Linked DNA regions of Homo sapiens: all the other regions are linked to region 1. Evidence: promoter capture Hi-C in 16 types of primary human blood cells and fetal thymus (Javierre and others, 2016). All regions are on one chromosome and are shown on one strand. Each heading gives the region's core, a stretch centred on a gene start or on the middle of the fragment in contact. The rest is flanking DNA. Distances are from core to core; before and after follow the strand shown. Region 1 holds the start of CEACAM18 (CEA cell adhesion molecule 18). Region 2 overlaps SPACA6 (sperm acrosome associated 6). Region 3 holds the start of IGLON5 (IgLON family member 5). Region 4 overlaps VSIG10L (V-set and immunoglobulin domain containing 10 like).

Evidence for each region. Contacts are between HindIII fragments. The CHiCAGO score rates a contact against its expected background, and 5 or more counts as called.
Region 2: a contact is called between a fragment that was not itself captured here and the fragment with the promoter of CEACAM18 in region 1, in 5 of 17 cell types (monocytes, total B cells, neutrophils and 2 more). The highest score is 8.2, in monocytes.
Region 3: the fragment with the promoter of IGLON5 here is called in contact with the fragment with the promoter of CEACAM18 in region 1 in 7 of 17 cell types (fetal thymus, activated CD4 T cells, total CD4 T cells and 4 more); the score reaches 7.3 in fetal thymus.
Region 4: a fragment that was not itself captured here is called in contact with the fragment with the promoter of CEACAM18 in region 1 in 5 of 17 cell types (naive B cells, activated CD4 T cells, total B cells and 2 more); the score reaches 8.2 in naive B cells.

Annotation. Positions count from the first base shown.
Region 1 is chr19:51,477,289-51,483,038 of GRCh38, forward strand. It overlaps CEACAM18 (CEA cell adhesion molecule 18), which reads left to right and starts at 1,251. Exons shown (of 6, transcript NM_001405061.1): 1 at 1,251-1,406; 2 at 3,045-3,392; 3 at 4,105-4,377; 4 at 5,729-5,750. The coding sequence starts at 1,355. The HindIII fragment of the contact is 9,749 bases long and covers 1-5,750 here.
Region 2 is chr19:51,695,452-51,701,201 of GRCh38, forward strand. All of the region lies in intron 2 of SPACA6 (sperm acrosome associated 6), which reads left to right. Among named protein-coding and RNA genes, the nearest start is that of SPACA6-AS1, 4.9 kb to the left of the region's middle. The HindIII fragment of the contact is 3,711 bases long and covers 242-3,952 here.
Region 3 is chr19:51,309,202-51,314,951 of GRCh38, forward strand. It overlaps IGLON5 (IgLON family member 5), which reads left to right and starts at 2,443. Exons shown (of 8, transcript NM_001101372.3): 1 at 2,443-2,725. The coding sequence starts at 2,647. The HindIII fragment of the contact is 5,776 bases long and covers 1-5,515 here.
Region 4 is chr19:51,330,566-51,336,315 of GRCh38, forward strand. VSIG10L (V-set and immunoglobulin domain containing 10 like) reads right to left here. Exons shown (of 10, transcript NM_001163922.3): 8 at 3,626-3,739; 9 at 3,226-3,380; 10 at 976-2,075. The coding sequence ends at 2,046. It overlaps IGLON5 (IgLON family member 5), which reads left to right. Exons shown (of 8, transcript NM_001101372.3): 8 at 1-326. Among named protein-coding and RNA genes, the nearest start is that of VSIG10L-AS1, 6.6 kb to the right of the region's middle. The HindIII fragment of the contact is 3,891 bases long and covers 689-4,579 here.

The DNA of each region.
Region 1 (5,750 bases), core at 1-2,500:
ATCCCTGTTTTTAGAAACAGCCTGACCCTCCAACAACAAAGTGTCAACCTAAATAACAAACAGAGAGAAGCTCTCTAAAAGAAAATGATATGTATTCAGGAATGGGGCATTGCAATGGGAATCTGGGTGCTATAGTAAACTACGTGCATATTCAGGGAGGTAAAAGAACACAAAGGGTTTTCAATGGAAAAATGAGGAGGACCCCATAAATGGTTTGAGATAATTACCCTAGGCTACAAGGATCCCTAATGAGGGTGACGTCAGTCCAAGTTTGGACCGGAGGTTGCTGTCCAAATACTTGTCACAGAAGTATTTTTTTGGTGGAAGGAAGCAATGGCTTTTGTGCAAGACTATGGTTTCTGCAGCGTCTTCTGTGAAAATTTTTGTTGTCAGAGAGCCCTCGCTTCACAGCCTTCCCCACTGTATTTCTCAGGGATTTTTTTGGCTTGTGAGCACTTTCACAAAGGGATCTGGTTATACACACACTGGTTCAGGTCTAGAAGAGCATTCCCTGCAGCCATTCACAATGGTCATGGGAGGAATATTTAGTGACATAGAGAAATAGTCCACTGTTGAGGAGGAAAGCAGCCAGTTGTAAAACAGCCCCAGGCAGTCTAAAAGTTGGGCCCTACACCGGGCACGGTGGCTCACACCTGTAATCTCAGCACTTTGGGAGGCCGAGGTGGGCGGATAACGAGGTCAAGAGATCAAGACCATCCTGGCCAGCATGATGTAACCCCGTCTCTACTAAAAACACAAAAATTAGCTGGGTGTGGTGGCACGAGCCTGTAGTCCCAGCTACTCGGGAGGCTGAGGCAGGTGAATCACTTGGACCCGGAAGACGAGGTTGCGGTGAGCCAAGATCATGCCATTGCACTCCAGCCTGGTGACAGAGCGAGACTCCGTGAAAAAAAAAAAAAAAAAAAAAAAGCTGGGCCCTGCATAGGAAAACCAAACCAAATGGAAACAGGACATACAGTTGAGGAGTTTGATGTCCTATCTTTGAGGCACTTGGCTGTATTTTCTGGTTTTCTTTGTTTTCCCAACAGTGAGCCTGTGTTTTTCCGTTTTTTCATGACCAGAGAAAAAAATGTAAATTATTATAAAAATAAGTAAATAAATAATGAACTAAAGGCAACATAAAGCCATAAAGATAAGGTTGGGCTCTCAAGAGCCGTCTTCCCCAGGCCCCACCCCTGCTGGTCAGAGTGCACCCTGGGGAGGAAAGGCCGCCCTGAAGGCTGGGAGACGAGACCGGCAGCCTCTGTGCCAGGAGACACAGGTCTTGGAGGGAGCAGAGGAGGTGGCTGTGTCTCTGGAGGGACCCCTCCTCCTGGAGGACCCCAGGCAGCTCATGGACCTTTCCAGACCCAGATGGAGCCTGTGGAGGAGGGTCTTCCTCATGGGTAAGAGATGCTGGATGCTGGATGAGCTTCCCAGGACTGAGGGAAGGGCAGCTAGGAGCAAAGCGGCGGGGAGGGGGCTGGGACCATCCCCATCCACGGGCACATCAAGAAACTCCCAGAGCAGGGGTCGGGGAGAGGAGAAGGGGGAGGACCCTCAGCACAACTTTCATGAGCTCACACACGTGGGCACACTTTGCCCCTAGACACACCCCTGCACAGACCCACACATGTGGTGTTACACACACACGCACACGCACATGCACACACACACACGCGCGCACACACAGAGAGAGAGAGAGAGAAACTGTGTTTCTATCTACGCCCAGGAATCAGGAGCTTGGACCTTCACCCTCACCTCCCTGCACTCACCTCCCACTGGGTGCCCCAATCTGCCCCATCCCCTCCCCCACCTCTCAGGCCAGATTCCTTCCCAGCCCCTCACCTTTGCCCAGGACCTTCTGTGCCCCCTACAAGCACAACTGTCCTGCTTTACCACGTGTACTGTCCTTGAACAGGTCCAGTGTGTCCATACGTGAGGCCTAGAGCCGGGGTCTCAGGCATCTCTGCCTCCTCCACATAGCCCAGGCTTGGGGTTCACAGGGCAGTGGACAACTGCCCATGTCATATGTGGTAACAGGCTGCCGCCTCCATTCACACCCACTCCAGTGAATTTAGATGCAAAATCAAAGACATGTAGAAATTCTCGGGGGAGTATTTCTCACCCAGACAATCATTACTGAACTCCCCCTGTGTCCAGCCTGTGCTCAGGGGCGCTGGGGACTCAGTGGTGACTGAGACAGGGCAGTCCTGCCCTCCTGGAGCCCACAGTCCAGGGCGAGATATAGATATGTGCCCAGACTCTGAGGACCCCCAGAGGTCATGGCTGGGATGGGGGGAGCCCAGGAGGAGCTGGGGGAGCCCAGAGGGGACACCTGACCCAGGCTGGGGTGGAGGAGACATCCAAGCTGAGACCTGAGTGATGAATAGAAGTGAGTCAGCAAGGAGGGTGCAGATGGAGAGGAGGGAGAAGGAGTCCCTGCCGGGAATGGGGAACAGCGTGTGCGAAGCCTGGAGTTAGGAGAAGGTGTGGTGCACCAAGAGAGCTATGTAGAGGCCTGGGGCATACAGCGTGGCAGTCATGTCTTCTGATAAATAACTACAGGAATAAATGAGTAAAAGGTGCATAGTGGGGACAGGATGGGGTAGGTGTGCACCACAAGGAGGCTCGATGAGTCACAAACACCAGCTCTGGCTGAGAGTGTTTCATATACCCACCTAAGAGTTTGGACTGTATCCTAAGAGCACTGGGGAGCCATGGAAGGTGTTTGAGCAGAGGAGAACAGGGTCGCAACTTGGGCTTATTAACATTTACGTAACTGTGATGTGAGGATGGATTGGAGGCTGTGTGGCTAGCGAGGAGGGCCTGGGAGAAGATAAGGGTAAAATGGACCACGGCAGGGGCTGAGGGGAGGCACAGGAGGGGACAAGCTGGGGACTCTACCAGGAGCCAGAAACTCTTGCCTGGTTCACCAGCGTCTCTGGGAATCGTTCCCGGATGGTGTCTTTTTTCCTTGTCTTCTCAGCCAGTCTGAATCTCTTTGTGAATTTCTCTCTGTCTTTTTTCCTTGTCTTCTTCAGCCAGTCTGCTGGCCTGTGGGATCTGCCAGGCCTCTGGCCAAATCTTCATCACCCAAACCCTGGGGATCAAGGGATATCGGACTGTCGTGGCCCTGGATAAGGTCCCTGAGGATGTTCAGGAATACAGCTGGTACTGGGGTGCAAACGACAGCGCAGGAAACATGATTATCAGCCACAAACCGCCCAGTGCCCAGCAGCCTGGGCCCATGTACACTGGCAGGGAGAGAGTGAACAGAGAAGGCAGCCTGTTGATCAGGCCGACTGCATTAAATGACACGGGAAACTACACTGTTCGGGTGGTTGCAGGCAATGAGACCCAAAGAGCAACCGGCTGGCTGGAGGTTCTAGGTGGGTTAGCAGGTGCTGTGTTTCCCAACCCCCAAGGAGAGCTAGATGTGACACATTTGAGAGAAGGACATTATACAGAGCATGACACCGGGAGTGGAAATCACGGAGCCGCCCTGGAATCTTGTGTACCATGGACAGCTCCTGGGGGATCTGAGGGCTAGTGGGAGGAGAGGGCGGAGTTGGAAGACAAGCAGTCCTGTATTTGACAGTGGCTGCAAATACATACTGCAGGACCCTGGCCCATTTGTGTTCCTTCTGTGTTCTTCAGTTTCCTCATCTGTAGAGTGGGGAGGAACCCACCATTGTGGTTTGTCGTAGCGTTGGAGGGAGTATTCGTAAAGTGAATGGGACTCAAATAATGGAGTAGTATTGTGTAGCCAAATGCCACCTCTCACTCAGAACCTCTCGTGTCTCCTGGATGAGGGTCCTGGTTTGGAGGATCAGAAACAATGATTAGGCCACATGTTTATGCCAAGAGCTCACCATTATGGCAGCAGACAGCACGGCAGTGGCTCAGGCAAGGCCCACACCTCAGCAGCCTCATTGCCCTGTGCCTATTCCTCTGCCCTTCTCAGCTCCCTTGCCAGGATGCCAGATCTTATCTTACAGCTCTTGGCTTCTCTCCAACATGCCCAGAAGTCCCCTGGAGAGGAGCAGAGCTTGGGGAAGCAGACCCCACTTGTAATTTTTTTCTCTTTCCTGCTTCACCCAGAGTTGGGAAGCAATCTGGGCATCTCCGTCAATGCCAGCTCCCTGGTGGAGAACATGGATTCTGTGGCTGCTGACTGCCTCACAAATGTCACCAACATCACGTGGTATGTGAATGATGTGCCTACCTCTAGTAGTGACCGGATGACAATTTCCCCAGACGGCAAGACCCTCGTCATCCTCAGGGTCAGCCGCTATGACAGAACAATTCAGTGCATGATAGAGAGTTTCCCAGAGATCTTTCAGAGAAGTGAACGCATCTCTCTGACTGTGGCCTGTGAGTGGTCTGGGCTCCTGGGACTGAAGCCAGGGCTGGTCTCAGGGCTTTCTAGGGATAGGAATATGTTAGGACAGGCTGAGCTGGAGAGAGGGGGCATCCTGGGCCAGCCTGCAGCCAGCTCACTCTGGATTGGAATCAGCTCAGGCTCTTGAGCCCTGTGAACTTGGGAGCTGCCCCTGCTACTCAGAAACGTGGTACACTCGAGTTTGAAATGAAGACGCCAGTCCCCACTTCTCAGATTAGAAATGGTCAGTGTGCCTTTGTTGAGGTCTGCTTTTGTGTAAAGAGGGGACTACTGAATACCATTGTTTCTTAAATTGATGTTCAATTATTAAGTTTTCAAGCCCCTTGAGCCTTGAAATTCTGCTCATTAATTTCTTTCTTCTTTTCTACTAAATTTAGTATAGTCCCTGTCACTCTCTTTCACTGAAACTGAACAGGCTATGCTCCCTTAAACAGAGAGCTTTATTTAAAGACTCAATTATGCATTCCATACATTCTTTTTTTTTTATAGCCTTTTAGCTGCCTACCGGGGCAAGTTCACCACCCAGGAAGACCTCCACAAATTCTCAGACAGCTCTTGGAAATCGAATACGCTGAACTTATAAATACATTAACACTTAGATTTTTCCCCAGTATTCCAGGACTGCTCACAGAGTTTAATAAACTCTTCCACATCTTCCAACTGAAAACCATAATCACACATCTAAAATCACTTTCACGTCTCCTGGAACTACTCCAGCGGTCTGTCAGATTTCCTAAAGCGCAGGCTACGGCACCCATCCTGTGGAAGGTGGGGTTGAGGGGTGAACAATTTCTGACCTCCATACAGCTGTTTACAGGTCAGAGGCTTGGAACCAAGACCCAGGATCCAGAGGCTGCAGCTGCTCAGGGCAGTTGCTCCCAGGCCCTGAGACTGGCTCAATCCTTCTGTGTCAGTTGGAGTCATAAAGTCCTAATCCTCTCCTCCGAGCCTCATTGTTTTCCATCTATAAAATGGATCAATGGTGGAACCAGTCACATGGGTTGTTCTGGGAATTCAACAAATGTGGGGACAGGCACAGAGCTTAGAACAGTGCCTGGCACACAGTAGGCCCCATGTGTTGGCTTTTACTCCACTAATTTTATTACAATGTAAATGGCACCATGGGCCTGGCCTCTAGTAGTTCCTTAATCATAGAAGATGCTCTTATGGTTATTGTTGTTGACACAGCTGCCTTGCCTGGGGCAGGTCTAGGGGTTAGCCCGAGGTGCACAATGGGGAACCTCCTGGCTGGGGGAGGACTTCATGAGACGGGACGCCGAGGGGTCAGAAACATAGCCTGGGCCTCCTACCCTGTCTCTACAGATGGGCCCGACTATGTGCTGCT
Region 2 (5,750 bases), core at 847-3,346, 220 kb after region 1:
CACCCACAGTCGCTCCTTTTGCTTCCTGCTTTGCCCTCCAAGCGTCCTGTCAACAATCCCGGAAGAGGGAAGGTTCCCATCCACCCAGGGGGCATCCAGGGCCAGCCTGGAGAAGGCCTCAGCTGTGGCTCTCCCCATCTCCACCCTAAAGGGAGACCTGAGGCCCTAAACCTCTCCATGTGGGGGTGTGCAGGATTCCAAGAAATGCCCTTTCTCCCCACATAGGCTGCCTTGTTACAGAAGCTTTTGAAAAGATGAGGAACCTTTGGATCTGGGAATGGAAGCCTTCTGTGGGGCCGCATGGGGGACAAACTTGGAGGGGAGAGAGAAGAGGCTGGGTGAGGGTCCAGGCCAGAGCGGAGGCCCGAGTGGGGGCTGGGGCCGTGAAGGTGGAGAAGGGCCAGGGCCAGAGAGTTAGGTCTGCTGGGCTGTTTTGGGAAGCATAGAGAACAGCATCTGAGACAGGTCCTGCTCTGTGCCTGTTGGGCGGTGGGTCATCACCGAAATAAGGAGCCTGAGAGAAAGAGCCGGGGGCAGATGATAAGCTGGGTTAGAAGGCAGTGACTTTGAGGGGTCCCAGGGACGTTTAGGAGGCAGCTAGATACCTAGGTGCAGAGTTCAGCAGAAAAGTCAGAGAGTGTTGAGTCTCTTTCCTCAGGGCGCTGGGGAGCTGCAGCAGGAGTGTGAGCAGTGAAGAAGTAGGGGCAGCTCTGGGTGTAGAAAGAACCCTCTGGGGTCGTGTCAAAGATGGACCAGAGGGAGAGTCTGGAGGCCGGGAGAAGCTGGTGCAATACGTTCAATTATACTTACTGAATGTGCCAGGAACAACCGCTGTGACCAAAACTGCAAACCACCTGTCCTCGGGTTGCTTATATTGGGGTGGAGTCTGGGGAGATAGACAATAAACATAATCGATAAAATATCTTAGTATCTTAGTATGTCAGTTGGTGATCCCTGCCATGGAGGAAAACAGAGAAGGGGAAGAGAAAGGGGTGATAGTTTTTTTGTTTTTTTGAGATAGGGTCTCACTTTGTCACCCAGGCTGGATTGCAGTGATGTGATTATACCTCACTACAGCTTCAAACTCCTGGGCTCAAGCGATCTTCCTGCCTCAGCCTCCCAAGTAGCTGGGACTATAGGTGTGCGCCACCATCTTTGGCTAATTTTTTAAATAGTTTGTAATGATGGTGTCTTGTTATGTTGCATGGGTTGGTCTTGAACTCCTGGGCTCAAGTGATCTTCCCACCTCAGCCTCCCAAAGTGCTGGGATTACAGGCATGAACTACCGTACCTGGCTGGGTGATAATTTTAAATAGGTTGGTCAGGGCAGGTGGAAATGACAGGGTCCAGTTGAGCAAAGACCTGAGCAAGGTGACAGTGACAGCGACAGCCATGCAGATAATCTGTGGAAAGAGATTTTCAGGCCACAGGGAATAGCCAGTGCAAGACCCTGGGGCCCGTGGGGCTGGAGTAAAGGTGAAATCAGAGAGATAGCAAGGGGCCACCTCCTGTAGATCCTCATAGACAGGGGGTTCTCAAGCCCCAGCATACATCAGAATCCCCTGGGAGCTTATTTAAAATGCAGATTTCTGGGCTTCACCACCTCTGACCAGGAGGTCCAAGGTAGGGCCCAGACATGGACGTTTCTGTCAAGATCCCAGGGAATGCTGATGCTGCTGCTCCGGGAACACTCTTTGAGAATCACTGTTGTAGGCCCTTGGAATGACTTTTGTTTTTTGCTCTTGAAATGGGGGAGCTGTTGGAGGACTTTACACAGAGAGACAGGATCTGACCTGGGATTTAACAAGATCTCTCTGGCAGCTGTATGGGGCCTGGACAAAGGCAGGAAGACTTCCAGTGAGAAGCCGGCCCATGGTGGCTTGGACCAGTCACAGTGGTCCGGGGGCCCAGATGAGGTCTGAGCAGAGTGGGGTGGGCATAAGGATTTGACCGTGTGCCAGGCTTGCCCATGCGTGCAAAAGGCTGTGTTTGCCATACACAGAGTCATTCATATTAAGTATCTTCCTAAAGGATATCCTCTACCGGCCCTGTGAGGCTGGGTTTTATAGCCCCGCTTATCAGAAGGGAACGCTGGGCTCTTCTGGACAAGAACAGTAGGCCCAGGATATATTTGGAGATAGACTGGACCAGATGTAGGTGGGTGAGGGCAATGGGAAGAATCAAGGATGACTTTTGCGTCTCCTCCAGAGGGAGCAGCAGGGAGATGGAGGAGCTGATGTAGGCTGACTGCCTCTTGGTGATCCCAGGTGATCTTATTTGTATATATGTATATATAAACCATGGAGTAGATGACGTGGTACAGACTGGATGCAGTATTAGGTGTGGAGATTATGTATGCAGCGATTAGGTGTGGAGGCTCTGGAGCCTGACCACCAGGGTCAAATGTAGCCATGTGATTTTGGACCACTTCTCTAATCTCCCCATGCCTCCGTTTCCCCACCTCAAACTTGGAGATGGCAATCCTAAGTTTGCCAGCCTTCTCTAACACTCACTACGTGCTAGGAGCCATTCTACACACTTAGTGACACCATCTCATACAATCATTAAACGATGCCATGGAAGAGTGGGGATGAGGATGCTTTCATGGTTGTATGGCGTCTCATCCTCCCGCTAATTCTGTGATACAGACACTGCTGTCATCCTCATTTGATGAATGAGGAAACTGAGGATCAGGAAGGTGAAGTCACTTGGCCAAGGTCGCATGGGGAGGAGGGCTTGTGATTGATACTCAGATCTGAGACAGGTGTGCTCAAGACGGAAGCACCAGGACTCAGACCCAGATGATCTGAACCAGGGTCAGAGCTCCTGACGATATGCAACTCCTCTGGGGGAGACTTTACAACACCCACCCATGCCGCCTTATGGCCCGCTTGCTATAACCCAGGCCACTTGGCCTGTTCGGAACATTTCACTCCACTTATACTCCCCTGGTGGAGTATAAGCCCACCCGGCCACCATGGCTTACTTGGTATATCCCACGCTCACCCTGCCCATGAGTCATTTGATTTGGCACATAGAAATTCTTTGGATGACTCCTCCAACATCCTGGCCTCTCATTTGTGCACCCCAGTCTGACCACATGCTCCTGATCATCCTGCCATCTTGAGACCACACTCCTGCTCTGTGGCCAAGGAGAGACCACTGGGTCCTCATTTGGAACCCACTTCTGGGCATCAGTGCTTCCTCTCTCCAAGTGTATATCCAGTGATCATTGTTTTAGGCACTTTCTTGCCAATATCCTCAGTTCCCTCCCTTTTTGTATGGCTTTAATCACAGAGGACGCTTTCCCCTGTCCCTGCAATGGCTTTAAGCCCGTAGGAAGTTTAGCTCTCCTATATAAAGTAAGTCTTGTGGTAGGCACTTAAGGCTAATATGGCACCTCCATTTCTTGGGGATCCAAGCTCCTTCAAGACTTAATATCCCAGGGAGTAGCCCTTGTCCTCATGGTCCCGTGTGGCTGCTAGAGCTCCAACCATCAAAACAAATTTTCAGGCAGCAGGATGGATGAGGGGAACAATAAGATGGCACCACCTTCTCTGTCTTTGTTTTTTAGAGACAGGGTCTTGCTCTATTGCCCAGGCTGGGTGGAGGGCAGTGGTGCAATCATAGCTCACTACAGCCTTGAACTCCTGGGCTCAACCATCCTCCCACTTCAGCTTCCTGAGTAGCTAAGACTACAAGCACACCATCACACCTGGCTAATTTATAAAAATTTGTTTAGAGATGGTGTCTGGATATGTTGCCCAGGCTTGTCTCGAACTCCTGGCCTCAAGTGATCCTGTCACCTCAGCCTCCCGAGTAGCTGTGATTCCAGGTGCGGTACCACCTCCCTTTTAAGGCCACCTCCTGTGACTCACATAACACATCCATTTGCATCCTATGGCTACAACTTGGTCACATGACCACAACTGCAAGGAAGGCTGGGAGATGAAGCTTTTTATCTGTGTTCTGTGGATATAGGTTATAGATATATAGGTATTTGGAGGCAGTGAACAATTCCTGTGTGTTGGTTTGCTAGGACCACTGTAACAAAGTACCGTAGACTGGGTGACTCGAACAACAGAAGTTTCTGCCTTCTAGAAGTCTGAGACCAAGGTTTTGGTGTCAGCAGGGTTAGTTTCTTCTCACGCCTCTCTCTTTGGCTTGTAGATGCCTTCCTTCATATGTCCCTGTGTGCATCTCTGTGTCCTAATTTCCTCTTCTCATAAGGACACCAATCATACTGCATTACAGCCCACCCTAATGACCTCATTTTAACTTAATCACCTCTTTAAGAACCAAGTACAGTCACATTCTGAGGTACTGGGAGTTAGGACTTCAACATACAAGTTTGGTTGCGGGGGATGGGGGGTGGGCGGCACGATTTAGCCGATAAAACCCTGCCACATTACTGATTTCCACAAATCACCACGAGATCAAGTCAGCTGTCTATTCTTATTCCACTGGAACAAGCCACAAACCCATACAATTTGGAGGCCATTGCAGTGGTCAAAACACAAGGCCAGGCATGGTGGCCCACACCTGTAATCCCAGCACTTTGGGAGGCCGAGGCAGGCGGATCACCTGAGGTTAGGAGTTTGAGACCAGCCTGGCCAACATGGTGAAACCCCATCTCTACTAAAAATATAAAAATTCGCCGAGCATGGTGGTGGGTGCCTGTAATCCTAGCTACTGGGGAGGCTGAGGCAGGAGAATCACTTGAACCTGGGAGGTGGAAGTTGCAGTGAGCCAAGATCACACCACTGTACGCCAGCCTGGGCAACAGAGCGAGACTCTATCTCAAAACAAAACAAACACCTACAAAGACAAGGAACATAAAAGAGTAAAAGATGGGTAAATATAGAAGTGAATAGAGGCTGGGGACTATGGAGAAGTGGCCGGTGTGTGCCCCATTTCAAGGGAGTGACTGCTACCCATCTCCAGCTAATTGCTGCCTTATGGAAATGCGATCTCTGTGTTACAGCTCTTCCAACTTTGTAAAAAAGAGATGCCAAACGTTTTATTTGACATTCCAAATTTTATATGTTGGCAACTGGTTCATTTTCTTTTAAACACTTTCCAGGCCAAATATAACACATCCCAGGGATGGATTTGGGTCATAGGCCACCAGCTGGGGTCTCCAGTTCAAGTTGGATCCTGGAATTCATTGTACAAATACTTACTGAGCACTTCTAAGACTGAGGGCCCTCTCCAGGATCCAGAGGACACAGTGCTACAGAAGAACATGTTTATTTACTTACGAGACAGACATAAGTGATCATCATCTATATATAAATATATGTAATTGCAGACAGATGAGAGCTAGGAATGAAATGATTGCGATGAGAGACAAAAACAGGGAACTTGGTTAGATTTGTGGTGATGGAAGGATGATTAGGAGAAGGAAAAATGTGCTAAAAACAAGCCAGCATGTGCAAAGGCCCTGAGGTGCTAGGGAATGTGGTGGTTTTCATATTAAAGGAAATGAGGCCAGGCACGGTGGCTCATGCCTGTAACCCCAGCACTTTGGGAGGCTGAGGTGGGTGGATCACTTGAGGTCAGGAGTTCGAGACCAGCCTGGCCAACATGGTGAAACCCCATCTCTACTAAAAACACAAAAATTAGCCAGGCGTGGTGGTGCACACCTGCAGTCCCTGCTACTCGGGAGGCTAGGGCAGGAGAATCACTTGAACCCAGGAGGCGGAGGTTGCGGTGAGCCGAGATCGCACCACTGCACTCCAGCCTGGGTG
Region 3 (5,750 bases), core at 1,193-3,692, 170 kb before region 1:
ACTTGAACCCAGGAGTTAGAGGTTGTGGTGAGCCAAGATCATACCATTGCACTCTAGCCTGGGCAAGAAGAGCAAAACTCTGTCAAAAAAAAAAGAAAGAAAGAAAGAAAGAAAGAAAAGAAAAGGAAAAGGCAAAAGAACATTGTTAGTGCTATGAAGAGGTATGACGTAGAGTTATTGTGCTGGGAGTAGCAGCTACTTTGGAAACTATGATCAATGAAGGCTTCTTAAAGGGGAGAAGATGAGCCTTAAATAAGAAAGAGTCATCTGCCAGTGTGGTAGGAAGAGCATTCCAGCGAAAGAACGGCAAGTACAAAGACCCTGGGGCTGGAATTGTTCGGTTTGTTTAAGGAATGGAAAGAAGGTCACAGCGAGCTGAGTGATTGAGGCAGGGAGTGGCCCTAGCTGGTCCAGGTGTTTAGTGGTGGTTGTTCTGAAGGTGGAGGCAAAGGTAGAGGCCAAGAGAGTAGAGCATAGGCTGCTACAGCCAGAGTCCTACAGGGAGAGGTGGTGAAAGCTCAGACCAGGATGGGAGAGTAAGAAAAGGACAAAGCAGAGATTTGTTTTGGAGACAGAGCCAGCGGTTCTTGCAGACAAATTGGATGTGAGTGGAGGGGGAAGGAATTGAGGATGGATATGTTTCTGAGGCAGAACAGCCCCTACTGGGTAACTTCAAAAGCTCCTGCCTTGAACTGCTACAGAAATAACGTAGACTCAGAGATTATTTTGCTCCTGCGTATGCCAAGGGGACGGGAACAGGAGGGTGGAATACACCTAGTAAACAGATGCAAAGTGGAAAGGGGAGGGAGAAACTCACTACAGGTTTTTGAGGTGCTGGCTGGAGCCAGGAGCTGCTCCAAGATCTCTCATTCTTCTCAATAACCTTGGGCAATAGGGAATTTTCCACCTTGCAGGGGAAGACGCTGAGGTTCTGGGAAGAGAAATGGCTTGTCCAAGGTCACACAGCCAAGTCAGTGAAAGAACAGGGAGCCAGGATGTTTTGCACCTAAACCCTGGATTATGGTTTCCTCCCCACCTGCTCCCCCAAGATAAGTCCCCCAATCCCTTCCCATTGCCTTATTATACTGGGGATGAGGGTTGGGGTGGAGGAAAAAAGCAAATTTCACTCCAAAAGTCAGTGTTTTCGTTATCCATGAAAATAGATGGAAAAGCTGAACTGTGGCCCACAGGAAGAGGGGCCTGGGGGCCTGGCCTCCTGGGTCTGAGGGAGGAGGGGGCTGGGGGCCTGGACTCCTGGGTCTGAGGGAGGAGGGGCTGGGGGCCTGGACTCCTGGGTCTGAGGGAGGAGGGGCTGGGGGCCTGGACTCCAGGGTCTGAGGGAGGAGGGGCTGGGGGCCTGGACTCCAGGGTCTGAGGGAGGAGGGACTGGGGACCTGGACTCCTGGGTCTGAGGGAGGAGGGGCTGGGGGCCTGGACTCCTAGGTCTGAGGGAGGAGGAACTGGGGACCTGGACTCCTGGGCCTGAGGGAGGAGGGGCTGGGGACCTGGACTCCTGGCTCTGAGGGAGGAGGGGCTGGGGGCCTGGACTCCAGGGTCTGAGGGAGGAGGAGCTGGGGGCCTGGACTCCTGGGTCTGAGGGAGGAGGGGCTGGGGGCCTGGACTCCTGGGTCTGAGGGACGAGGGGCTGGGGGCCTGGGCTCCAGGGTCTGAGGGAGGAGGGGCTGGGGGCCTGGACTCCTGGGTCTGAGGGAGGAGGGGCTGGGGGCCTGGACTCCTGGGTCTGAGGGAGGAGGGGCTGGGGGCCTGGGCTCCAGGGTCTGAGGGAGGAGGGGCTGGGGGCCTGGACTCCTGGGTCTGAGGGAGGAGGGGCTGGGGGCCTGGACTCCTGGGTCTGAGGGAGGAGGGGCTGGGGGCCTGGGCTCCAGGGTCTGAGGGAGGAGGGGCTGGGGGCCTGGACTCCTGGGTCTGAGGGAGGAGGGGCTGGGGGCCTGGGCTCCAGGGTCTGAGAGAGGAGGGGCTGGGCCTGGACTCCTGGGTCTGAGGGAGGAGGGGCTGGGGGCCTGGACTCCTGGGCTGAGGGAGGAGGGGCTGGGGGCCTGGACTCCTGGGTCTGAGGGAGGAGGGGCTGGGGGCCTGGACTCCTGGGTCTGAGGGAGGAGGGGCTGGGGGCCTGGACTCCAGGGTCTGAGGGAGGAGGGGCTGGGGACCTGGGCTCCTGGGTCTGAGAGAGGAGGGACTGGGGCTAGTCTCCTAGGTCCATGGGAGGATGAGATTGGGACTTGAAGGAGGAGGGAGCTGGGTTTTAGGAAGTATCCCAGACTCCGTGTTCTGCGGATGTGGTGGAAAGACGTGGGGACGCCTGGGGCGGGAGGGGTAGGGGCCGGGCCGCAGTAACAAAGGCCTCTCCCTCCAACAAGCAACCCCCCCTTGACCCCGCCTCCCCGGCCCCCCACCTCTCCTGATTGGCCGGTCTCCCTGCCCGTCAGCGCCGCCCCCCTCCCCGGGTCTGCAGCAGCTCCAGCCGCCTCGTCGCGCCCCCCCAGCCCCCTCCCCCCGCCCCCGCCGCCCCCCGGGCCGGTGCAGCGCAGGCGGGGTCCCCCTCCCCCTCCCCCCTCTCCCCCCAGGCCTCGCGCGCCCCGGACCGGCCCCCCCTTTCCCCTCCCCCTCCGCGCCGCCTCTGCCGCGATGCCCCCCCCTGCGCCCGGGGCCCGGCTCCGGCTTCTCGCCGCCGCCGCCCTGGCCGGCTTGGCCGTCATCAGCCGAGGTACCGCAGCGCCGGGGGCGGGGGGCTCGGCCGGGACGCCAGGGTCTTGGGTGGGTAATCGGGGGATCAGGGGTGGGGGTCGAGGGCTGCATCCCTGGGCCGGCGCGGGGAGGCCCCGGGACGCCGGGGTCTGGGCCCGGGGGTGGGGTCTGCATTCCCTGGCTGGGCAGGGGGACCTCGGACGTGGGGGTCCGCGCCCCGGGGCAGGGGTCGGCGTCCTCGGGCCGGAGCCGGGTCTAGGGGCGGAGGTCTGCTTCCCCGAGCAGGCAAGAGGGTCGCAGACACCTAGCCCTGCCTGGGGGCAGGAGTCTGCGGCTCCTGTTGAGGAGGGGGCAGACACTGGACTCGGGGTCCCCGGGTCGGATCTCCGAACTGAGTTGGGGTGGGGGGCAGGGGATAATGCCCTGTTAGGGGTCTTCATCTGTACGTGGAGAGGGTCCCTGAAGAGGTCCTTGCCGGGGGCTGGGGTAGTCATCTCGGGACAGAGGTCAGGGGATGGATGCCTTCCCAGGGTCAGTAAGAGGAGGGGACAAGGGTGTCCACAGACCTAGTCCCAGGGTCAGGAAAAGAGGGGAAGGGTCTGAAATCCCCCAGCAGGGTCATCTAGGTTGAGAGAAAGTGTTGGTACTTGGGGAGGTTGCAGTTATGTGGGGGAGAAGGGAGCTGGAGATACAGGAAGTTGGGGTGCTGGGCTGGGGTCTTGGATTCCCAAGCTCTGATTGAATGTCTAGGTTCGTGGGGCTGGACAGTGGAAGAGCGATGGGCATGGGAGGATGAAGGAAAGACGGAAGGGAAGGGTTAAAGCAGGTTGAAGGGTTAACCCCGGCCCGGCCCGGCCCTCCCAGTTGGGGAGAGGGCCAGGGGCAGGTTTCTGCACTGAGGTTAGATAGCTGGACCTTGAGTCTCCCCAGTAGGGCCTGGCAGGCAGGGGGTGGTCAAGGAGATTCCTAGATTTCCCCCTAAGAAAAGGGAGGAGAGTGCAAGGAGGCAGGAGGCTGGAGGGTGGGCGCTCAGGAGGGCAGGGAGCTGGGTTAATTCAGACTTTCTGGAGGATTCCCCCAGGCCCTCCCCTGAACAAAGAGTTCCAGGGACAACCAAGAACCCCGACAGAGTCCCCAAGAGTCTCAGAGAGGCCGCCCGCATAGACCAAGTCTGGCACAGAAACCCCGTCACAGCGTCCCACCCGAAGCAGCACCTGCAGACACCAGTCACACAAACACAGCCCCATCCACGCAGGACGCAGGGACCTGGTGGGCCACAGCCTCAGTCCCTTGCTAGTCCTCCCCCGTCTCCCACCTGACCAGTCTGAATCGCCCTCTGACTTTCTGACCACCTGTCTCTGTCTCTGTCATGCATCTCTTTAGGTCTTTGTGTCCCTGCCATTTCTGGAGGTTCCCATCCCTTCCCATCTCTGTTATCCACTGCTGACTTTCCACCTGCCTCTGTCTCTGGGTCATTGTCTCTCCATCCCTGCTGCTGACAGCACAGTTCCACATCTGTCTGTCTCTGCTTTTCAGACTGTTGCCCATTGCATGACTCAGTCTCTTGATACTTGCTTGCTTCCTCACTTATGCCTTAATCTTCATTAACTTCTCTCATTTCCTTCTCTCATTCATTTCCTTCTTGTTCTGACCTACCTTTCTCTTTTTTCTTTCTCTTTCCTTCTTTCTCTTTCCTTCTTTCTTTCTTTCCTTCTTTCTCTTTTTCTCTCTCTCTCTCTTTTTCTTTCTTTCTTTCTTTCTTTCTTTCTTTCTTTCTTTCTTTCTTTCTTCTTTCTTCTCTTTTTTTCTTTCTTTTTCTTGTTTTTTTGAGACAGGGTCTGACTTTCTCACCTAGGCTGGAGTGGAGTGGTGCAAGCATACACAGCTCACTGCAGCCTCAATTTCCCTGCCTCAAGCGATCCTGCCACCTCAGCCTCTGGAGTAGCTGGGACCACAGATGCACGCCACCACACCTGGCTAATTTTTAATTTTTTTTCTTTGTAGAGATGGGGGTCTCACTATATTGCCCAGACTAGTCTCAAATTCCTGGCCTCAAGTGATCCTCCCACCTGGGCCTCTCAAAGTGCTGAGATTACAGGTGTGAGCCACTGCACCAGCCACCTCTTCTTTCTTTCTCTCCTTGTCCTTATCTCTTGTCTTCTTCTTCCTCCTCTTCTTTCCCTGATCCTGTACCCTTTGTGACCTTTCCCCCACTTTCCTGTTTCTTCTCTCCCTCCCCTTCTCTCTCTCACTGCAACTTCCCATTTTTCACATTCACTATTTTTTTTTTTTTTGAGGCAGAGTTTTACTCTTGCTGCCAGGCTGGAGTGTAGTGGCATAATCTCAGCTCACTGCAACCTCTGCCTCCCGGGTTCAAGTGATTCTCCTGCCTCAGCCTCGCAAGTAGCTGGGACTACAGGTGTGTGCCACCACGCTGGGCTAATTTTTGTACTTTTAGTAGATACAGGGTTTCACCATGTTGGCCAGGCTGGTTTCGAACTCCTGACCTCAGGTGATCTGCCCACCTCAGCCTCCCAAAGTGCTGGGATTACAGGCATGAGCCACTGTCTGGCCCCCACATTCATTCTTAAAGTCCCTATAAATCATTACGGGGCTAGACTGGGGCAGGAAGCTGTGGCAGAGCCAGGAGGTGGCTTGTGACCCTGCTCAAGTCTTTTCCCATCTCTGGTCTTAGGTTCCCCTTTTGAGAACTGGGGACGAGAGGGGATGGGGTGGGGTTGAGACAGAACGAGATGCCAGAAAGACACCCCCACCCACCCATGGATAGTTTGAGCTGTCTGGGAAAAAAAGCTTATGGCAAGATATGCAAACTAGCATCTTCTCTCTTCTTTTATTCATGATCTTGTCCAAGTTACAAGAGGAATACACTGCAAACAGTCCGCCTCTGATAAGGGCAAACCCCATTGTGCTCCTGCCCTGCCACCACTCTCACAACCACTGTCTTGAGAGAACCGGTCTGTGGCTGGAGTGCATCCTTCCATAGCTTTCTCTCACTTCTGCAGACTTAGACACGACACACAGAG
Region 4 (5,750 bases), core at 1,384-3,883, 150 kb before region 1:
TGACCCAGTAAGGCTAATGAGAAAGTGAATGGATTCCCAAGAAGAGATGCTTTTCTGCTGGATATTGTGGCTCCGTGATGTGAAGTCAACATCTGTAGGGTTGCTTTTCTCCATCACATGGAGAGATCTTGGCTCTGTGGGGATAGCAATGGTGGGGAGGACAGCATATGGAGCCTGAGAAGGATAGGAACACTGTGAAGGGCAGAGTGGAAACCTTAGAGAAACTGAGTCCATGATTATATATCATTTGAGCAGCTGGATCAAAACTTAACTGATGCCCATTTTCACTTATATAAGCAATAAAGTCCCCTGTATATTTAAACCAATTTGCATTGGATTTTCTATCTCTAGTAATAAAAAAGAGAATGAAAACCATAATAGATACAGAAGAGACATAGAAGGCCCAGAACCCCAACCCTCACCTTTCCAAAAGGATCCAGGGGTTCTATTTTCCAATGGCCTTTTCTACCCCCAATCATTAACCAGAAATTCTCTCACATGCTTTCCTTCCCTGAGACAGATGCTGGTTGCCCACATTTGAGTTGTTTGGTTCCCCTTTCTTCTTCGCTGGCAGATCCACGTGTTATGATACAGGCTAGATATCTGGTTTCCTAGCCTCCTTTGCAGCTATGTGGCCAGTTTGGGCCAAAGAGACATAAATGGAAATTTGCTTGTAGGTTTCCAGGAAAGCTTCCCTCCCACCCCATGAGAGGGAAGAAGGCAGTGATAGAGGGAGGTAGAGGGTGGGGAAGATGTATAGGGAGGAAGTTCTGCCCCCTTCCTTTTATCTTTGGATACAGTTGTGTGAAGATGTGATGACTGGAGCTGCAGCAACCATCTTGCTACGTGAAGCAACATGCTTAGAGTCAATGTGCCAACCCACTGAGGGTGGCAGAGCAGATGGATGCAAAGGGCCCATGTCTTTAATGGCGTTACTGAGCTGCTGAGCCAGCCTGAAACCAGCCGCCTCCATAGTTCTTGCCACCATTTTATTTTGTTACTTGCAGTCAAAAGAATCCTCACCAATGCACTCTCTAAATTCTCAATTAGAAACCCAGCTGAAAAAGCAAGACTTACGCTGAAGACAGCAGCAGCAAGCCCAACTCTTCACTGGCACCAAAACATTTGATCAGTCAACAAATATTTATTGATTGCCTGCTGTGTGTGAGGCTCTGGGTTAAGTGCTGAGTTAATGATGTGGTCTCTGCTTTTGTAAAGCCCTTAGTTTAGAGAGAGAGTCTCAGGCCACACAAGAAATTACATATTTATGTATCAGGAACGGCAAATTCAAGGATTCTGGGACTTAACCCAAGACTAAGGGAGGGGTAAGGGAACGGTCGTCTAAGATGGTAACTGCTACTCTTAGACTTGAGAAATGAATGACATATGGGAAAAAGAAGTGTTATAAGCACAGCAAACTCTAGGGGCAAAATAAATTGTGGCTGAGAGACAGACTGTGATACTGGAGTCCGGGGGCAGAGAAAGAATTGGGAGGGGAGGTCAGGGAGGCCAACAGAGGCCAGACCACAAGGTTTTGAAGGTCACGACGATGAGTTTGGATAATATCTGAAGGGAAATGCACAGGCCGTAGAAGCGTTTAAAGAGAAGAGTGACATGATCTGATCTGTTTTAAGATGAAGATGCTGGGAGCTGGATGGGGTGTGGCCTACAGGTGGCAAAGTGAATGTAAGGGGACCTTTTCAGAGAACATGGCCAAGCTCCCTCTCTAGCTCAGAGCAACACAGCAAGCCCTGCCTGTCTGCTGCAGAGGCTTGGAGGTTGTGCAAACCACACAGTTAGATCAGCAAGAGTTTCCCAGCCAAGAAGTCACATCTCCTTACTTGCACAAATACAGGAAGACTCTTCTTCTGCAGCAAGAGAGGGAGACAGAAAGTCCCACTTTCAGGGTCCAACCCTCAGTCATAGCAGGCCCTGGCTGCTGCTGGAGTGAAATAGGAAGTTCTGGCCCAAAACGCCCTGTGCAGGGCAGACCACTGGCTCTGATCACACCTGTGTGGCTGCGCGAACAGTCTTTGAGCCTCCGCCTACAGAGACAACTGAACTGGGGTCTGTGCCTGGAAGAGAGAGGTGGGGTGAGGGGAGAACTCAGTAGGTACTCTGGATGTGACATAACTCACCCGCCTAACTTTTTCTAGCTCTTGCTTGAACTTTTTAGAGATTATCTGGGAACCCTCCATTTGGAGAGGGGAAAAAAAATGCCTGGCTATCCTTGGTGGAGCGAAGCCAGCCAACAACCCAACCCAGTTGTTATTTTTTATTTATTTATTTATTTATTTATTTTGAGACAGGGTCTCACTCTGTCATCCAGGCTAGAGTACAGTGGCACCGTTAGAGCTCACTGCAGCCTTGACCTCCCAGGCCCAAGCAATCCTCCCACCTCAGCCTCCCTAGTAGCTGGGACTACAGGTACGTGCCACCATGCCCGACTAATTTTAAAATTTTTTGTAGAGATGGGGTATCCCTATGTTGCCCAAGCTGGTATCGAACTCCTGAGCTCAAGTGATTCTCTCTCCTCAACCACCCGAAGTGCTGGGATTACAGGCATGAACTATCACACCCAGTCACAACAATCCTTCTTTTATGGGGAATGAGGTAACTGTACCCCACTTCATAGAGAAAAATGGGCCTTGCCCAATTTTTATGGGAAAGAAAAATGGAGGGGCTGGGCGTAGTGGCTCATGCCTGTAATCCCAGCACTTTGGGAGGCCAAGGTGGGCGGATCACTTGAGGTTAGGAGTTCGGGACCAGCCTGCCTAACATGGTGAAATCCCGTCTGTACTAAAAATACAAAAATCAGTCAGGCGTTGTGGTGCTTGCCTGTAATCCCAGCTACTCAAGTGGCTGAGGCAGGAAAATCGCTTGAACCCAGGAGGCGGAGGCTGCAGTGAGTCGAGATTGCACCACTGCAGTCCAACCTGGGCAACAAAGTGAGACTCTGTCTCCAAAAAAAAAAAAAAGAGAGAGAGAGATCCTATTTCCCTCCTTTGGAGAAGAAACTGGAATTCACTCTTATTTTAATATACATCAAAGTTGGGCGGGAAGCTCTGTCCAACTTTGATGCATTTTTAAAAAGGATAAAGTTATACAGACTGTAAACTAACAAGTAAAACTGGAGTTAGATAATTGAGACCCTCTCATCTCCCTGACTGTAATACAAGAAGTTCCGCCCCGATTCCAGGAGGAAATGAGGGCACCCACACTCACTTGGTAGGCCCTAGTTGAGCTGTGGTCCTCCAGAGGGACTTTGAGGTCCAGAGGCCATGAAATCTCCACTGGGGTCACACTATGCATCTTCTTTTCTGAGGGGGTGACCACGGGGACCAAGGTAGAAGGATGCTTCTTTTTCTCAGGAGTCTTTCCTGATTGAGAGGCAGAAGAGAAGCAGGAACACGTGATTGGCTGCCCCAACATGCCAACCCAGCCAATAGCAAGGGAAGCTGGTTGGAGAGGCGGAGCCTTATGCTGATTGGCTGATTTGGAGGTAGGAGGGCAGGATGGATGACCTATGACGGCACTGATTGCCTCAGCCAGGTCTTCCATAGGCCTCTTTCTAGGGTCCCTCCCCGTTGGTCATGGTTGCCCCTTCCCCAGTCCCCTTGCTCACCACGAAAGCGGCACAGGCAGCAGATGCAAAGGAGGAGAAGTACGGCTAGCAGCGCCAGGCCCAGCAGGGAGCCCAGGACGATGCCAGCGATGGCCCCATGGCTCAACGTGGGGCCTGGAAGAGACAAAGAGAAGAAAGAGAAGGGGAACAGGAACCAAGGTTGGACCCAAGTTTCCTAAGCCCCCTAACTTTGTGCTGGGACCCAGGAGTCCGGCCCCCACTGTCCCTCCCCTCCCAGAACCCAGGAATGTGGGACCCCAGCACTCTCAACTCATTTAACAGTTACTGAGTGACCGTGGTGTGCCTGGCTCTCAGACAGGTAGTGAGGATTCATTCGTGGGCCAAACAGGAAAGATATCTACCCTTATGGGGCTTAATTCTAGGAGAGAAGACATAAATAAATGAGCAATACATAAGATAATCACAGATTGTCCCGAGAAAGAAAAAGTGATGTGATAGAGATAATGGGGGACAGGTGTGGTGGCTCACACCTGTGATTCCCAACACTTTGGGAGGTCAAGGTGGGCAACCACTTGAGCCCAGGAGTTGGAGACCAGCCTGGGCAACATAGCGAGATCCTGTCTCTACAAAAAATAGAAAAACTAGCCAGGTGCGGTGGCTGCGCCTGTAGCCCCAGCTACTCAGGAGACTGAGGCAAGATCACCTGAGTCTGGGGACGTTGAGGCTGCAGTGAGCCCAGATCGTGCCACTGCACTCCAGCCTGGGCATCAAAGTGAGACCTTCTCTCAAAAAAAGAAAACAAACAAACAAAAAACAAAAAAGGAACAATGGGAAGGGATGTGACATTTAGAAACAGTGGTGAGCTCAGGTCCCTGAGGAAGTAACGTTTGAACAGAGACTTGAAGAATAAAGACCAGAGACAGTCATACTAAACCCGGGGAAAGGGCGTTCCAAGAGGAGGGAACAGTAAATGCAAAGGCCCAGAACTAGAAAAGCTTTCTCTGTTCAACGAAGGCCAGCGTGGGTGGAGGATAAGGAAGGAGCGGGCTGGAGGTGGAGAGTGAAGTAGAAAAGGTTTCCAGGAACCAGATCCTAAAGGGGTCCTGCAGAAATTAATGGACGGCTTTTATGTAGAGCAGCCTCATGATCTGATTTGCATAACTTTGGCTTCTGTGTGGAGAATGCATTATCTGACAGCAAGAGGGAGTATAAAGAGACCAAATAAACTGCTGTTGCAGTCCAGGCAAGAGAGGATGCTGTGTTTGACCAGAGCCTTGGGGTGAAGATGGAAAATATTTTAGAAGGAAAATGGACCGAACTTGCTGGCAATTAGGATGTCAGGGGTGATGTGGCCTGTAAGTGGTGACATTTATGAGGATGGGGAAGACTGCAGGGTTGGAGGATGCAGTTTTGAGGGAAAACATCGAAAGATCTGTTTTGGGCATATGACATTTGGGATGCTAATTGGACATCCAAAGTGAAGATCTTGACTCACGCCTGTAATCCCAGCACTTTGGGAGGCCGAGGCAGGCAGATCACTTGAGGTCAGGAGCTCAAGACCAGCCTGGCCAACATGGCAAAATCCTGTCTCTGCTAAAAATTCAAAAAAAATTAGCTGGGCGTGGTGGCTCACACCTGTAATCCCAGCTACTCTGGAGGCTGAGGCAGGAGAATCACTTGAACCCAGGAGGTGGAGGTTCCAGTTAGCTGAGATCATGCCACTGCACTCCAGCCTGGGTGACAGAGCAACACTCTGTCCACACCCCCCACCTCCCCAAAAAGTGAAGATCTTAAGTTGGGCGCATCCTTTTCAAGAGAGAAGTCAGGGCCCAGGATAAGACATTTGGGAGTCATCTGATTATTAATGTTATTGAAGGCCATGAGCATGAACATGATCACTTTGGGGAGTGAGGACTAAATCCTGAGATGCTCCAATGGAGGCATGTTATCAACTGAATTGTGCCTACCCCAAAAGAAAAACATATGTTGAAGTCCTAACCCCTGTTCCTGTGAATGTGACTTTATTTTGGAATAAGGTCTTTGAAGATGTAACCAAGTCAATTTGAGGTATTAGGGTGGACCCTAATCCAATATAACTGGTGTCCTTAAAAGAAGAGGACAGAAGCCAGGTGCGGTGGCTCACACCTGTAATCCCAGCACTTTG